Linked DNA regions of Homo sapiens: region 1 is linked to region 2. Evidence: promoter capture Hi-C in human tissues and cell types (Jung and others, 2019). All regions are on one chromosome and are shown on one strand. Each heading gives the region's core, a stretch centred on a gene start or on the middle of the fragment in contact. The rest is flanking DNA. Distances are from core to core; before and after follow the strand shown. Region 1 overlaps CFDP1 (craniofacial development protein 1). Region 2 holds the start of FA2H (fatty acid 2-hydroxylase).

Region 1 (6,797 bases), core at 832-3,331, 620 kb after region 2:
TTTGTAGTCCTCTGAGAAGTTTTTTCTTGTTTTTTGTTTGTTTGTTTGTTTTCATTTGAGATGGAGTCTCGCTCTGTCGCCTAGGCTGGAGTGCAGTGGCGCAATCTCGGCTCACTGCAACCTCTGCCTCCTGGGTTCATGCCATTCTCCTGCCTCAGCCTCCCAAGCAGCTGGGACTACGGGTGCCCGCCACCACGCCCAGCTAATTTTTTTGTATTTTTAGTAGAGATGGGGTTTCACCGTGTTAGCCAGGATGGTCTTGATCTCCTGACCTTGTGATCTGCCCGCCTTGGCCTCCCAAAGTGCTGGGATTACAGGCGTGAGCCACTGCGCCCAGCGTTTTTTTGTTTTAAAACCAGGCCAGGTACAGTGGCTCATGCCTGTAATCCCAGCATTTTGGGAGGCCAAAGTGGGCAGATCATTTGAGGTCAGGAGTTCGAGACCAGCCTGGCCAACATGATGAAACCCCATCTCTACTAAAAATACAAAAGTTAACTGAGTGTGGTGGTGCATGCCTGTAACTCCAGCTACTTAGGAGGCTGAATCACTTGAACCTGGGAGGCAGAGGTTGCAGTGAGCCAAGATAGCATCACTGCACTCCAGCCCTGACAACAGAGCAAGACTCCGTCTCAAAAAGAAAACAACAGGCCGGGGGCAGTGGCTCACGCCTGTAATCCCAGCACTTTGGGAGACTGAGGCGGGCAGATTATGAGGTCAGGAGTTCGAGACCAGCCAGGCCAACATGGTGAAACCCTGTCTCTACTAAAAAAAGTAAAAAAAATTAGCCGGGCATAGTGGCAGGTACACCTGTATCCTAGCTACTCGGGAGGCTGAGGCAGGAGAACCTCATGAACCCAGAAGGTGGAGGCTGCAGTCAGCCGAGATCCCGCCACTGCACTCCAGCCTGGGCGACAGCGAGACTCCGTCTCAAAAAATAAATAAATAAATAAAAATAAAAGAACAAAACAAAACAAATCCTTCCCTACTCCACTGATGCTGAGCTTGGATACACGACTTGCTACAAAGGCCAATGAAGTATTAGCTGATCTGAGAGGAACAGAAGCTTAAACATGTTTGTGCTGTTTCTCTTGCCCCTTGAATTCATCCCTTGAGTCATAAGGAGAATACACCTCAACTGGCTGCTGGTCCAAGATGGCAGAAAGACACATGCTGTAGACCTGAACCCAACAAACAAGCAGCTTGGAGCTTAGCTGAGCCGAGTCTAAATCACTCAATCTCAGATACTCAGAGGCAAAAGGCAACAAGTAAATGCTTATCATTGTACATCACTGAGTTTTGGAATGGTGTGCTACACAGCACTACTGTAGCAAGAGCTGACTGACACATTTACATTTTGTGAGTAAGAAAACTGAAATATAAGGTTGCGTTACTTATTCAAGGCTATCCTGAGATTAAGCAGCAATGCTATAGAGAACCCTATAGCAGACAGGATATTCCAAAGATGGTTGCCACAAATTTCCCATCCCCACATGCTCTTCCAGAACCCTGATACTACCCCAGTTAGAGGGGGAGTCTGTGTCATCACCCCTTGAAAGTGAATGGGCCTTCATGGCTGTCTCAACTCAAAGAGTTCTGTGGAAGTGGCACAACATGACTTCCACAGGCTAGCAAATAAAAGATAATACAGCTTCCACCTGGCATGCTTCCACCTGGCATGCTCTGTCTGTCTGTCTGTCCCTGTGTCTGTCTCTCTCAAGAATGCACCTTTGAAACTCCAAGTTACCACAAAAGAAGTCTGGCTACTCTGCAGCCACTATGTTGGAGAGATCATATGGGAAGATCACACAGAAACAGACGTCTGAGAAGCCTGTACCAACCCCTGGGTGTTTGAGCCTTCCCAGCTCTGGCATCAGACGTGGGAGTAAGAAAACCTGTGAAGGCTGGGCGTGGTGGTCATGCCTGTAATCCCAGCACTTTGGGAGGCTGAGGCGGGCAGATCACGAGGTCAGGAGATTGAGACCACCCTGGCTAACACGGTGAAACCCCGTCTCTACTAAAAAATACAAAAAAAATTAGCCAGGCATGGTGGCGGGCGCCTGTAGTCCCAGCTACTCGGGAGGCTGAGGCAGGAGAATAGTGGGAACCCGGGAGGTGGAGCTTGCAGTGAGCCGAAATCATGCCACTGCACTTCAGCCTGGGAGACAGAGCGAGACTCCGTCTCAAAAAAAAAAAAAAAAAAAAAAAGAAAACCTGTGAAGTGGTTCCACACTTAGCCACTGTCTGATTACAACTGTACAAGAGACCCTGAGTAAGAACTGCCTAGCTGAGCCCAGCCACCCCTGGAACCAAGAGAAATTATAATAAAACAATTATTTTTTAAAGCCACTAAATTTTGAGGTGCTTTCTTACACTGTTGTAAAAATAACCAAAATAAACCCACATCCAAATCTCAGGCTTAATGCAGGGTTCTGGAGTACTAAACTAGAAAGGGTACCTTTAAATTTCCTTGCTCTGGGTAGAATCTGGGGCAGACCAGCTAATGAAGAACAAGTAGAAACTGCCACTTACATATAGTAATCTGAACACATGCTTTATTCCAGTCCTGCCAAAACCCTACTAAATAGTGGCAAATAAATTTAAAAAGATGAAACTACACAAGGATAATGAGAAGAAGTATAACAGAAAAGGGATGCCAACAGAATTTTCTTCTTCTTTTTTTTTGTTTTAAAGACAGAGTCTCACCATGTTGCCTGGGCTGGATTCAAACTCCTGGGCTCAAGTGGTCCTCCTGCCTTGGCCTCCCAGTGCTGGGATTACAGGCATGAGCCACTGCGCCCAGCCCAAATTTTCTGACAGTAGAAAGCAGCCAGGTGCAGTAGCTCGGGCCTGTAATTCCAGCACTTTGGGAGGCCAAGGGCGGGAGGATTACTTGAGCCCTGGGCAACATGGCAAGACCCTAACTCTACAAAAAATTTTTTAAAATCGGCTGGGCGTGGTGGCTCACGCCTGTAACCCCAGCATTTTGGGAGGCCAAGGCAGGCGGATCACCTGAGGTTGGGAGTTCGAGACCAGCCTGATCAACATGGAGAAACCCCATCTCTATCAAAAATACAAAATTAGCCAGTGGTGGTGGCACATGCCTGTAATCCCAGCTGCTTGGGAGGCTGAGGCAGCAGAATCGCTTGAACCCAGGAGGTGGAGGTTGCGGTGAGCCGAGATCGTGCCATTGCACTCCAGCCTGGGCAACAAGAGCAAAACTCCATCTCAAAAAAAAAAAAAAAAAAAGGAAAAAAAAAATCAGCCAGGCATCATGGCGTGCACCTGTAGTCCTAGATGCTTGGGAGGCTGAAGCAGAAGGATCGCTTGAAGCCAGGAGTTCAAGGTTACAGTGAGCTATTATCGTGGAACTATACAGCCTAGGCAACAGAGTGAGACCCTGTCTCAAAACAAAAAACAAAACAAAACAAAAAAGAAGGTAGAAAGCAAGTAGACAAGTAATAACTGGCTTTGGTTTTTGTTTTCTCTGATCTCCTAAGCCTACAGCCATGTGGAATGGCCAAAAACAGGCAAGCCAATGTGTACTAAAGTACCCTAGAAAGGCTCATTAAATTGAGACACCAGGAACCTTTCGAGGTAGAGGAAAGGAATAGGGCTAAAACCAGTTGGAATTATCCATCAGGAGCAGCTAGGCCCCAGATCCCCTTCAGCAGCACCTCATACCACAGGCTACTGCTCTACCCCATCCCCAATCCAGCAGAACCCATTACTCTGGAGAAATGAAAACCACGGAAGTTCCAGACTCAAAAGGCATGGCTGAAGTCCATTCTGAGAAAAGAGGAATTATATGAAAATCTATGTATTCATTCTTCCTTTGCCAGAGCAACCCTGAAGCCTAGGTGTTCTGTACAACTGAGTTACAAGATGGAGTGCTACGAAACTCATATTGGACTTTATACCAGTAAGAAATAATGTACTGTATTATGCTACTGAGTTGCTGAGTTTGTTACCTCAGCCTAGACTGCCCTGGCCTGTCATATCAATTCTACTAATATGAATCTCATAAAAACAGAAAATAGGGGGAAGTTGTCAACAATAACAGAAAATGTCCTAGAAGTGAAGGATAGGCTTCCATAAAAAAGAGCCACAGAACACTGGATGCAGCTAATTTAAAAGCATCCAGCTTGACACAGTGGCTCACACCTGTAATCCCAGCACTTTGGGAGGCCGAGGTGGGCAGATAGTGAGGTCAGGAGTTCCAGACCAGCCTGGCAACATGGTGAAACCCTGTCTCTATTAAGAAATACAAAAATTGGCTGGGCGCAGTGGCTCACGCATGTAATCCCAGCACTTTGGGAGGCCGAGGTGGGTGGATCATGAGGTCAGGAAATCAAGACCATGCTGGCTAATACAGTGAAACCCCGTCTCTACTAAAAATACAAAATATTAGCCAGGCTTGGTGGCGAGCGCCTGTAGTCCCTGCTACTCGGGAGGCTGAGGCAGGAGAATGGCGTGAACCAGGGAGATGGAGCTTGCAGTGAGCCAAGATTGCACCACTGCACTCCACCCTGGGCAACAAAGTTAAGACTCCGTCTCAAAAAAAAAAAAAAAAAAAAAATTAGCTGGGCGTGGTAGCAGGTGCCTGTAATCCCAGCTGCTTGGGAGACTGAGCCAGGAGATTCGTTTGAACCCAGGAGGCAGAGGTTTCAGTGAGCTGAGATAGCGCCACTACACTCCAGTCTGGGCGACAAGGTGCGACTCCGTCTCAGAAAAATAAAAAAAAGATTCACATCAAGGCAAATCACTGTGAAGTTTCAGAATGCTGGTGATAGAGAAGATGAAATCAAATGGCCTAAGTGATAGCTTAAGGAAAAGTAGCCTCTAGGTAATGCATGTTTGGTTTTGTTTTTTACTACCTTCATGGAAATGACAAGCCTGGAAAGAGTCACCTGAGACAATTAGGTCAACATTTGCTGAAAAGCAACCTAGATCCAAGCACTGTTAGATGTTGAACATATAAAAAAAAATATGGCATGGCCTTTGCTCTTAAGGAGCTCACAGTTCAGCAGAACAGCCAACCATGAAAGCAAGTCATTGTAATACATGATATATAGTAAGTGGCATAAAAGCAGCATGGAAAAAGTATAAACTGTGGGAGTATCTCTCAAAATTTCTTAGTGCCAAAGTCCTATCTATATTCACTAGGAAACACTGGTATATTTATCTCAGGAACTTTAGTAATTGACACCAAGTAATATTACAGATTACTCTTCATTGACAGTATGCCTAGAACAACTCCACTTTTAACAAGCAATAAGGGATTCAAGTATCAAAATATCTTCAAGCAGGAGAACAGTTAAATTATAGACCACCTCTAACGCACAAGAGGGAACTCTGACAGGAAAAGGCCTATTATTAGTAATAGTTAATTCAAGTGTTCTCAACAGAAATTCCATTTTAACTTTATTTTCACTTGCTCAGAACTTCCTGAAAGTCTTTAATTGGGCAGAAACTTTCCATGACTGGCTTTTTCCAAAAGGTGAATCATTTAGGAAAGTCTGAGCTAACTGGCTCAGCTGGTTATGTGATAGGGCAGAATACAAAATACTATATTCCCCCATTCCCCTAGGTTAATAAGCTAAACATTTTTCAAGTAGGGACAAAAACAAAATGAAATGATCAAAGCCCAAAATTTAACATTAAAATACAGTTAGAAAACTGAAGACTAACTTTGTGCTAACACTACCTTACACTTAGACCTACAAATTCCTTCCTGTCATCACCAGCTCTTCTCACATTTCTTGAAGATGTAGTAATGCTCTTAACTTGATACAGAGAGAAAAAGGAGAATAATGACATGAAGAAATTAAAAGATATGCTCAAATCCATACAACAAATTTGTATCTGTTATCAATGAAAATTCAGATCTCGTAAGTCCCCTTATGAGAATTCCTTATAATGCCTAAATTTAAGTATAAATAAATTAAGTTTAAAAAAATCCTGTCAACATGCCCACTATTAACAGGGTTTTTGTTTTCTTTAGGGGAAGGGAGTTACAGAACTTTCACTTTTCATGTTATATATATTATATATCTCTGTAACATGATTTTTAAAGTAATAAGCATGTATCATTTTGAAATATAAAATGTATGTGACAGTATGTAATTCATATGAAAAAAGGGCTTCCATACTCATTTCTTTGTTTTGTTTTTTATAGACATGGTGCTGCCCTCTTCTGACAAATTGAGAAAACAGCAGACGCCCTGAATACCCATCAAGGACATTTAAAATTACCATCCACTTGTTTTCAAAAATGAAATAGGAAATTTGCAGCACACAACTATAATAGTATTTACTAACAAGTCCACAACACTTAATTTGACCGAAAATTTATGACTTTTTTTGAGACAGGGTCTCACTCTGTCACCCAGGCTGGAGTTCAGTGGCACGATCTCAGCACACAGCAACCTCTGCCTCCTGGTCTCAAGGGACACTCCTACTTCAGCCTCCTGAGTAGCTGGGACTACAGACACACACCACAATGACTGGCTAATTTTTATATTTTTTGTAGAAATGGAGTTTCTCCATGTTGCCCAGGCTGGTCTTCAACTCCAGTACTCAAGCAGTCCTCCTGCCTCAGCCTCCCAAAGTGCCGGGATTACAGGCATGTGCCACTGCGCCTGGCCTAATGACTTCTTACAGCAACAGTTATTTACCAGCTTTTTGTACACTCTATGTGAGGGCCACTAGTGAAGTTATAAATAAATCTTTCTTAGTCTGCATAACACATAGAAAATAATTCAAGCCAAAAAAGACTTCAAAAAACTTTTAAACCTATA
Region 2 (6,833 bases), core at 2,570-5,069:
GGGACCATCCAGGGCAGCTGGCCAGGGGTGGCTGTAAGCATACTCAGGATGGTGTTGCGAGGACGAGCCACACCCTAAGGCTCCTTTCTAGAGGATACAGTGACAACACAGGGCGGGCCCATGAGCCACCGCAAACCTGTCAGTCTCAACCTCTCTTATTTCCTGCACTCAGTTTTTCTTTTCTTTTCTTTTTCCTTTTCTATTTTTTTGTGACAAAATCTTACCTGTCACCCAGACTGGAATGCAGTGGTGCGATCTCAGCTCACTGCAACTTCTGCCTCCTGGGTTCAAACGATTCTCTTACCTCAGCCTCCCGAGCAGCTGGGATTACAGGCATGCACCACCACGCCCAGCTAATTTTTGTATTTTTAGCAGAGATAAGATTTTACCGTGTTGCCCAGGCTGATGTCGAACTCCTGACCTCAAGTGATCAGCCTGCCTCAGCCTCCCAAGCAGCTGGGAGGGCACCACCACACCCAGTGCACAACCACACCCGGCTAATTTTTTGTATTTTTAGTAGGGACAGCGTTTCACCATGTTGGCCAGACTGGTCTCAAACCCCTGACCTCAAGTGATCCACCCGCCTTACCCTCCCAAATTCCTGGGATTACAGGTATGAGCCACCGTGCCTGGCCTCCTGCACTCAGTTTTTCTTATATCTTCTTCTAAACCCTTCAGCATGAGCCGACACCAAACACCAACCTCTCAGATTAAACTGGGCCCTCACCACACAATGCTGAGTCCCAGCATATTGTCTAGAGACTCTCCCGAATTCATCCCCCTTCCCCCCATGGTCACAGCCACTGCAGTGGCAGCCATGCAGCAGCATCCTGCCTGATCTCCTCACACCCACTTAGGCTGTCTCTGTTCCTCCTTGAAACTGCAGCCAGCGTCCTCTTCTAAAGATGCAAATCTGACCATGAACCCTGCCTGAACCTCTTCCCTGGCTTCCTTTTTTTTTTTTTTTTAAGATGGAGTCTTGCTCTATTGCCCAGGCTGAAGTGCAGTGGCGTGATCTTGGCTCACTGCAACCTCCACCTCCCGGGCTCACCTGGCTTCCCATTTTTGTTAGAGTCAAGTCCCAAATCCTGACCACAGCCTACGAAGCCCCGTGTGATGTGGCCCCGGCCGACTTTTGGCCTCCCCCCACATCCCTGTCTTTGCCCATCAGCCTCTGGCCACGTTGGTTTTATTTGCAGTCTTTTACTATGTCAAGCTCTTCCTGCCAGAGCCTTCACACGTGCTGTTCCCTTTGCCCAAAATATTCTTCCTGCTACATGCCACCTGGCTAAGCCCAGCCTATCAATCAGCTCTCAGTGTCAATGTCGCTTTCTCAAGAAGGCTCTCTATGCTCCTCCCCTCTAGATCCGTACTCTGATACACCATTAATTAAGCAACTATCATGTGATCTGTGTGTTCCCTCTCCTTCCCCATTATCCCATTAGCTCCATGAAGACAGGAACCGAATTCGTTTTGTTCATTGATATCTCCCCACACCCAGCACAGTGCTGTCAACCCATTAAGGAACCAGTTCCATGACTGAATAAATGATGGAGAAATTAGGCAGGATGACCCAATGAAAAGCCACCTGAAACAGTGGGTGCTAAGTCCTTTCAACCAAAGATCTAAGAGTAGTTGCTGGGCTCATCTTGAAAGCAAGAGTTAGAAGCAGGGGACAATTGTTGGTTTTCAGGAGTCCCCCTTATCCACGGTTTCACTTTCCATGGTTTCAGTAACCCACGGTCAACCTGGGTCCAAAAACATAATTAAATGGAAAATTCCAGAAATAATTTATAAGTTTTAAATTACTTTTCAATAGTAGCCAATGCCACATCACCACACCTGTCATTCACCTCACTCCAACCCATCATGTAGGCATCTTATTATCTTTTTTTTTTTGAGGTGAGCTCTCACTCTGTTGCTCAGGCTGGAGTGCAGTGGCATGATCATGGCTCACTGCAGCCTCCACCTCTCAGGTGATCCTCCCACCTTAGCCTCCCAAGTAGCTAGAATTATAGCCACATGCCACCACACCCGGCTAATTTTGGTATTTTTTGTAGACACAAGGTCTCCCTATGTTGCCCAGGCTGGTCTTGAACTCCTGGGCTCGAGCGATCCTCTTACCTCGGCCTCCCAAAGTGCTAGGATTACAGATGTCAGCCACTTTGCCTGGCCTCATGTTATCATCTTACATTATCACAAGAAGAGTGAGTACAGTACTATAAGATGTTTTGAGAGAAAGGGACCACATACAAATAGCTCTTATTACAGTATATTGTTGTAACTATTCTATTATTGTTGTTGTTAATCTCTTCCTATTGTTCTTAATTTATAAATTTAACTTTATCATAGATATGCATATATGGGAAAAAACATAGCATATATAGGATTCGGTACTATCTGTGGTTTTAAGGATCCACTGAGGGTCTTGAAATGTATCCCCTTGGACAAGGGGGAACTACTGTATATCTAAGCATGATGGCCCCATACCAGTCCCAGAGCCAGGCCTGGGGAACATCAAGAGAGTCGCTTTGCCTCTGGCCTGAGCCTACCTGGAATCCTGTGGACTAGGTCTGTCTCCTCCACCCGAAGACTTTTGGGATGGAGCCAGCATTGATTTTGGAGTCAGATACATGTGGCTTTCCCACTATTTAGCTATTTGACCTTAGGCGCATTAATCAGAGCCTCCCTGAGCCTCAGATTCCATATCCTGAAATGGGAATAACAAAACCTGCCCCAGGTTGAGTTAAGGACTTAAATACCATCGGGAGCTGGTACTGCACAGAAGCGTGCAGCTCAGCACACAGTCTGGTCCAAAGTGCTGGTCCCTTTTCCTTGGCAAAACTGGCTCATGCCTTTCATTTCACTCTTTTGGAGTCCCAAGCCAGCGTGTAGGACAAGAATATAAGGGAAGGTCTGAGAGGTTGGAGGACACAGTCCACCCCAGACATGGCCCAGGCAAGGCCAGGGCGGCACCAGGAAACCCAAGCTAGTGAGAAGAGTTACTGATCTGTGCCTCTTTGAAGCAGAAGTGAGGTGGGATGGGGAGGTGGGAACAGGTTGAGCCCATTATCCAAACAGAAACGGAGAGTGGTTGCAAAGAGGGAGAGGCCGATAAGTGAAGAGGAAGGAAAGCCGAGGCGTATGGGGGGCTGGGGACAGAAACGGGAATCCAGGTTGTCGGAGGGCAGGGGCTGCAGAAGGAACACGCTGGAAGGAGGGGTGCTGGGGAAATGGGAGAGCTGGCACGGAGGCGGGCCAGGCGGTAAGGGTGGAAAGGAAGAGCAAGTTCCTGGAGAGAGGAAGGAGGGGTTGGAGGGGACGACAGTGACCTGTTGCCTGGAGAGAAGAGAGGGAAAGCGAGGGAAGGGAGGGCAGAAGCTGTCACCTTGGGTCCTGCTAGAGGGCAAGTGAACGGGGCTCGCCCGGGAGTGGAAGGCTGACGGAGGCCTGGGTTGGGGTGGGGGGCCCCGGCCCGGCTGTACCTGCTGCTCCCCGCGGAGCTCTCCCACGTAGTACTGCTCCAGCCAGCGGCGCGCGTTGGCCGAGTGCCTGTGCGGCGGCCCGTCCAGGTCGGCGCTGATGTCCTGGCCCGCCCTGGCCCGCAGCAGCTGCTCGCCCCCCGGGTGGTGCCGCACGAAGCTGGAGAGGTCGTAGAGGCGGGCCCCGCGGCGGACCCAGCACGCGCCGGCCGCCAGGCGCCGCTGGACCTCGGAGGGCGAGAAGGAGGCGGCGGGGGGCGGAGCGGGGGCCATGGCCGGAGACCGCAGCTCCCAGCGCGCAGCCCGGCGTCTGCTCTGCTGCCACCCTGAGCGCCTCTAACATCCCGGGAGCCCCGCGGCCGTTCCGGGCGGGCCGCCACCGCACCTGCTCATTTGCATACCGCGCTCCCATTGGCCGGCCGGGAGCCCCGGCAGAGCCGCGAGGGGCGGGCCCGGCGCCGGGAGCTGCGCGCCAGGTGGCCGCGGACAGGGAGTGCCGCGCCCGCCAGGTGTGTCCCGCGCGGGAGGAGGGTGGGCGGACACAGGCGGAGCGAGTCTCCCCGTCGCGGGTGGTTGTCTGGGCGGACATCCTCGGTGGCCTGATCGCTGCTGGAATAACTTCAACTGCTTCCACGGAGGAGCTGGCCGCATGGGACCCTCTGGCTCCAGGAGGTGCCCGAGAGAGCGAGAGGCGAATGAGGTGCTCGCCTCGGGTGCAAATATTTGTTTGTTTTTAAAATTTCAGTAGCTTTTGGGGTACCAGTGGTTTTTGGTTACATGGAGGAATTGTATAGTGGTAAGTCCTGAGATTTTAGTCCACCTGTCCCCCGAGTAGTGTACATTATACCCAATGTGTAGGGTTTTGTGTGTGTGTGTGTGTTACACCCCCTCCCATTCTCCCTATTGTCCATTATATCACTCTGTATGCCTTTGCGTCCTCATAGCTTAGTTCCTACTTATGAGTGAGAACATACAGTGTTTGGTTTTCCATTCCTGAATCACTTTCACTTAGAATAATGGCCTCCAGCTCCATGCAAGTTGCTGCAAAAGACTTCATTTCGTTCCTTTTTATGGCTGAGTAGTATTCTATCGTGTATATCAACTACATTTTCTTTATCCACTCATTGGTTGATGGTTATTTAAGTTGGTTCCATATCTTTTCGATTGTGAATTGGGCTGCAAAAAACAAACATTCGTGTGCAAGTGTCTTTTTCATATAATGACTCTTTTCCTTTGGGTAGATACCCAGTGGTGGGATTGCTGGACCGAATGGTGAATCTACTTTTTCTCTCCTCCCCTCCCCTCCCCTCCCCTTCCCTTCCTTTCCCTTCCCTTCCCGTGACAAGGTCTCACTCTGTCACCCAGGCTGGAGAGTAGTGGTGCGATCTTGGTTCACTGCAGCCTCGACCTCCCGGGCTCAAGCAATCCTCTTACCTCAGCCTCCCAAGTAGCTGGCACTACAGGCATGCACCACTACGCCTGGCTAATTTTTGTATTTTTTGTAGAGACGAGGTTTCACCATGCTGCCCAGGATGGTCTCAAACTCCTGGGCTCAAGCGATTTGCCTGCCATGGCCTCCCATAGTGCACTTTTTTTTTTTTTTTTTGAGACAGAGTCTCACTCTGTTGCCCAGGCTGAAGTGCAGTGGCACAATCTCAGCTCACTGCTACCTCCGCCTCCCGGGTTCAAGCGATTCTCCTGCCTCAGCCTCCAGAGTAGCTATGACTATAGGCGCGTGCCACCACGCCCGGCTAATTTTTTTGTATTTTTAGTAGAGACGGGGTTTCACCATGTTGGCCAGGTTGGTCTCGAACTCCTGGCCTCTAGTGATCCTCCCGCCGCAGCCTCCCAAAATGCTGGGATTACAGGCGTGAGCCACCGCGCCCAGCCCCAAAGTGTACTTTTAGTTTGTTAAAGAATCTCTGTACTGTTTTCCAAACAAGTTGTACTAATTTACATTCCCACCAGCAGTGCATAGCATAAGCATCCCCCTTTCACTACATACACGCAGACATCTACTGTTTCTTGACTTTTTAATAATGTTCGAGGGCAAAATTTAATGGGGCACCCCAAAACTCAGTCATCACTATATCTAATACCTGAACGTAATATTTAAAAAATTATATTGTTGGCTGGGTGCGGTAACTCACACCTGTAATCCCAGCACTTTGGGAGGCCGAGGTGGGCGAATCACGAGGTCAAGAGATCGAGACCATCTTGGCCAACATAGTGAAACCCCATCTCTACTAAAAATACAAAAATTAGCTGGCTGTGGAGGCACGCATCTGTAGTCCTAGCTACTTGGGAGGCTGAGGCAGGGGAATCGCTTGAATCTGGGAGTTGGAGGTTGCAGTGAGCCGAGAACGCCCCACCACACTCCAGCCTGGCGAGAAAGAGAGACTCTGTCTCAAAAAAAAAATTATTTTGTTGCACAATGTGAATGTTCTTAATGCCACTGAACTGTACACTGAAAATGGTTGGAATGGTAAATTTATATTATGTATATTTTACCGCAATACAAAATATTTAAGAATGTTTTAAAAAATCACATTGTCAAAAGACAGGGGTGAGGGGTGGGGTTGGGGGCGTGGCATTGGCCACCTGTTTTTGTAAATAAAGTTTTATTGGAACCAGGGCCAGGGATTCCTGAGACAGGGATGTGAAAGTGCAGGGTTAGCTCCTGTTTTTATTTAAAATTTTGATATTTTGTCCATCATGGATTTTTTTGCATTAATCTTGAAGTTTTACAATACTGCATTAAAATATTATTTATCTTGGTTACTTTTTTTTGTTTGTTTTTTGGCATGCCTGTAGATTTTGCTCTCAGGGTTAGTGCCTCACTCCCTCACTCTAATCCTGGGCCCTGGGGAAGGACCTGAGGGGAGAACAGAGAACACTGTCTCCATTACAGAAGGGGAAGTAGGGGCCTACAGGAGTAAAGGCTGGGGGTGATGCTGTGTGGAAAGGAGGACTGAATTTGTTCATCACAGTTTTGTTTAGAACAGGAAAAACTTGGTTGGACATGGTGGCTCATGCCTGTAATCCCAACCCTTTGGGAGGCCAAGGCAGGAGGATCGCTTGAGCCCAGGAGTTCAAGACCAGCCTGGGCAACAAAGCAATACCTCGTCTCTACAAAAAAATTTTTTTTTTAAATTGAGGCCAGGCCGGGCGCGGTGGCTCATGCCTGTAGTCCCAGCACTTTGGGAGGCCGAGGTGGGCGGATCACCTGAGGTCGGGAGTTTGAGACCAGCCTGACCAACATGGAGAAACTCTATCTCTACTAAAAATAAAAAATTAGCCAGGCATGGTGGTGCCTGCCTGTAATCTCAGCTACTCAGGAAGGCTGAGGCA

Evidence for each region. The method cuts DNA at HindIII sites, captures the fragments that hold promoters and counts their contacts. A contact is called where the count stands out against the background at its distance.
Region 1: a fragment that was not itself captured here is called in contact with the fragment with the promoter of FA2H in region 2 in 1 of the 25 tissues and cell types used here (spleen).

Annotation. Positions count from the first base shown.
Region 1 is chr16:75,396,875-75,403,671 of GRCh38, forward strand. All of the region lies in intron 4 of CFDP1 (craniofacial development protein 1), which reads right to left. Among named protein-coding and RNA genes, the nearest start is that of CFDP1, 33 kb to the right of the region's middle. The HindIII fragment of the contact is 4,741 bases long and covers 1-4,452 here.
Region 2 is chr16:74,771,001-74,777,833 of GRCh38, forward strand. It overlaps FA2H (fatty acid 2-hydroxylase), which reads right to left and starts at 3,820. Exons shown (of 7, transcript NM_024306.5): 1 at 3,486-3,820. The coding sequence starts at 3,755. RefSeq lists enhancers at 2-81, 877-1,166 and silencers at 3,457-3,506, 3,547-3,916, 3,927-4,056, 4,067-4,126. The HindIII fragment of the contact is 21,235 bases long and covers 1-6,833 here.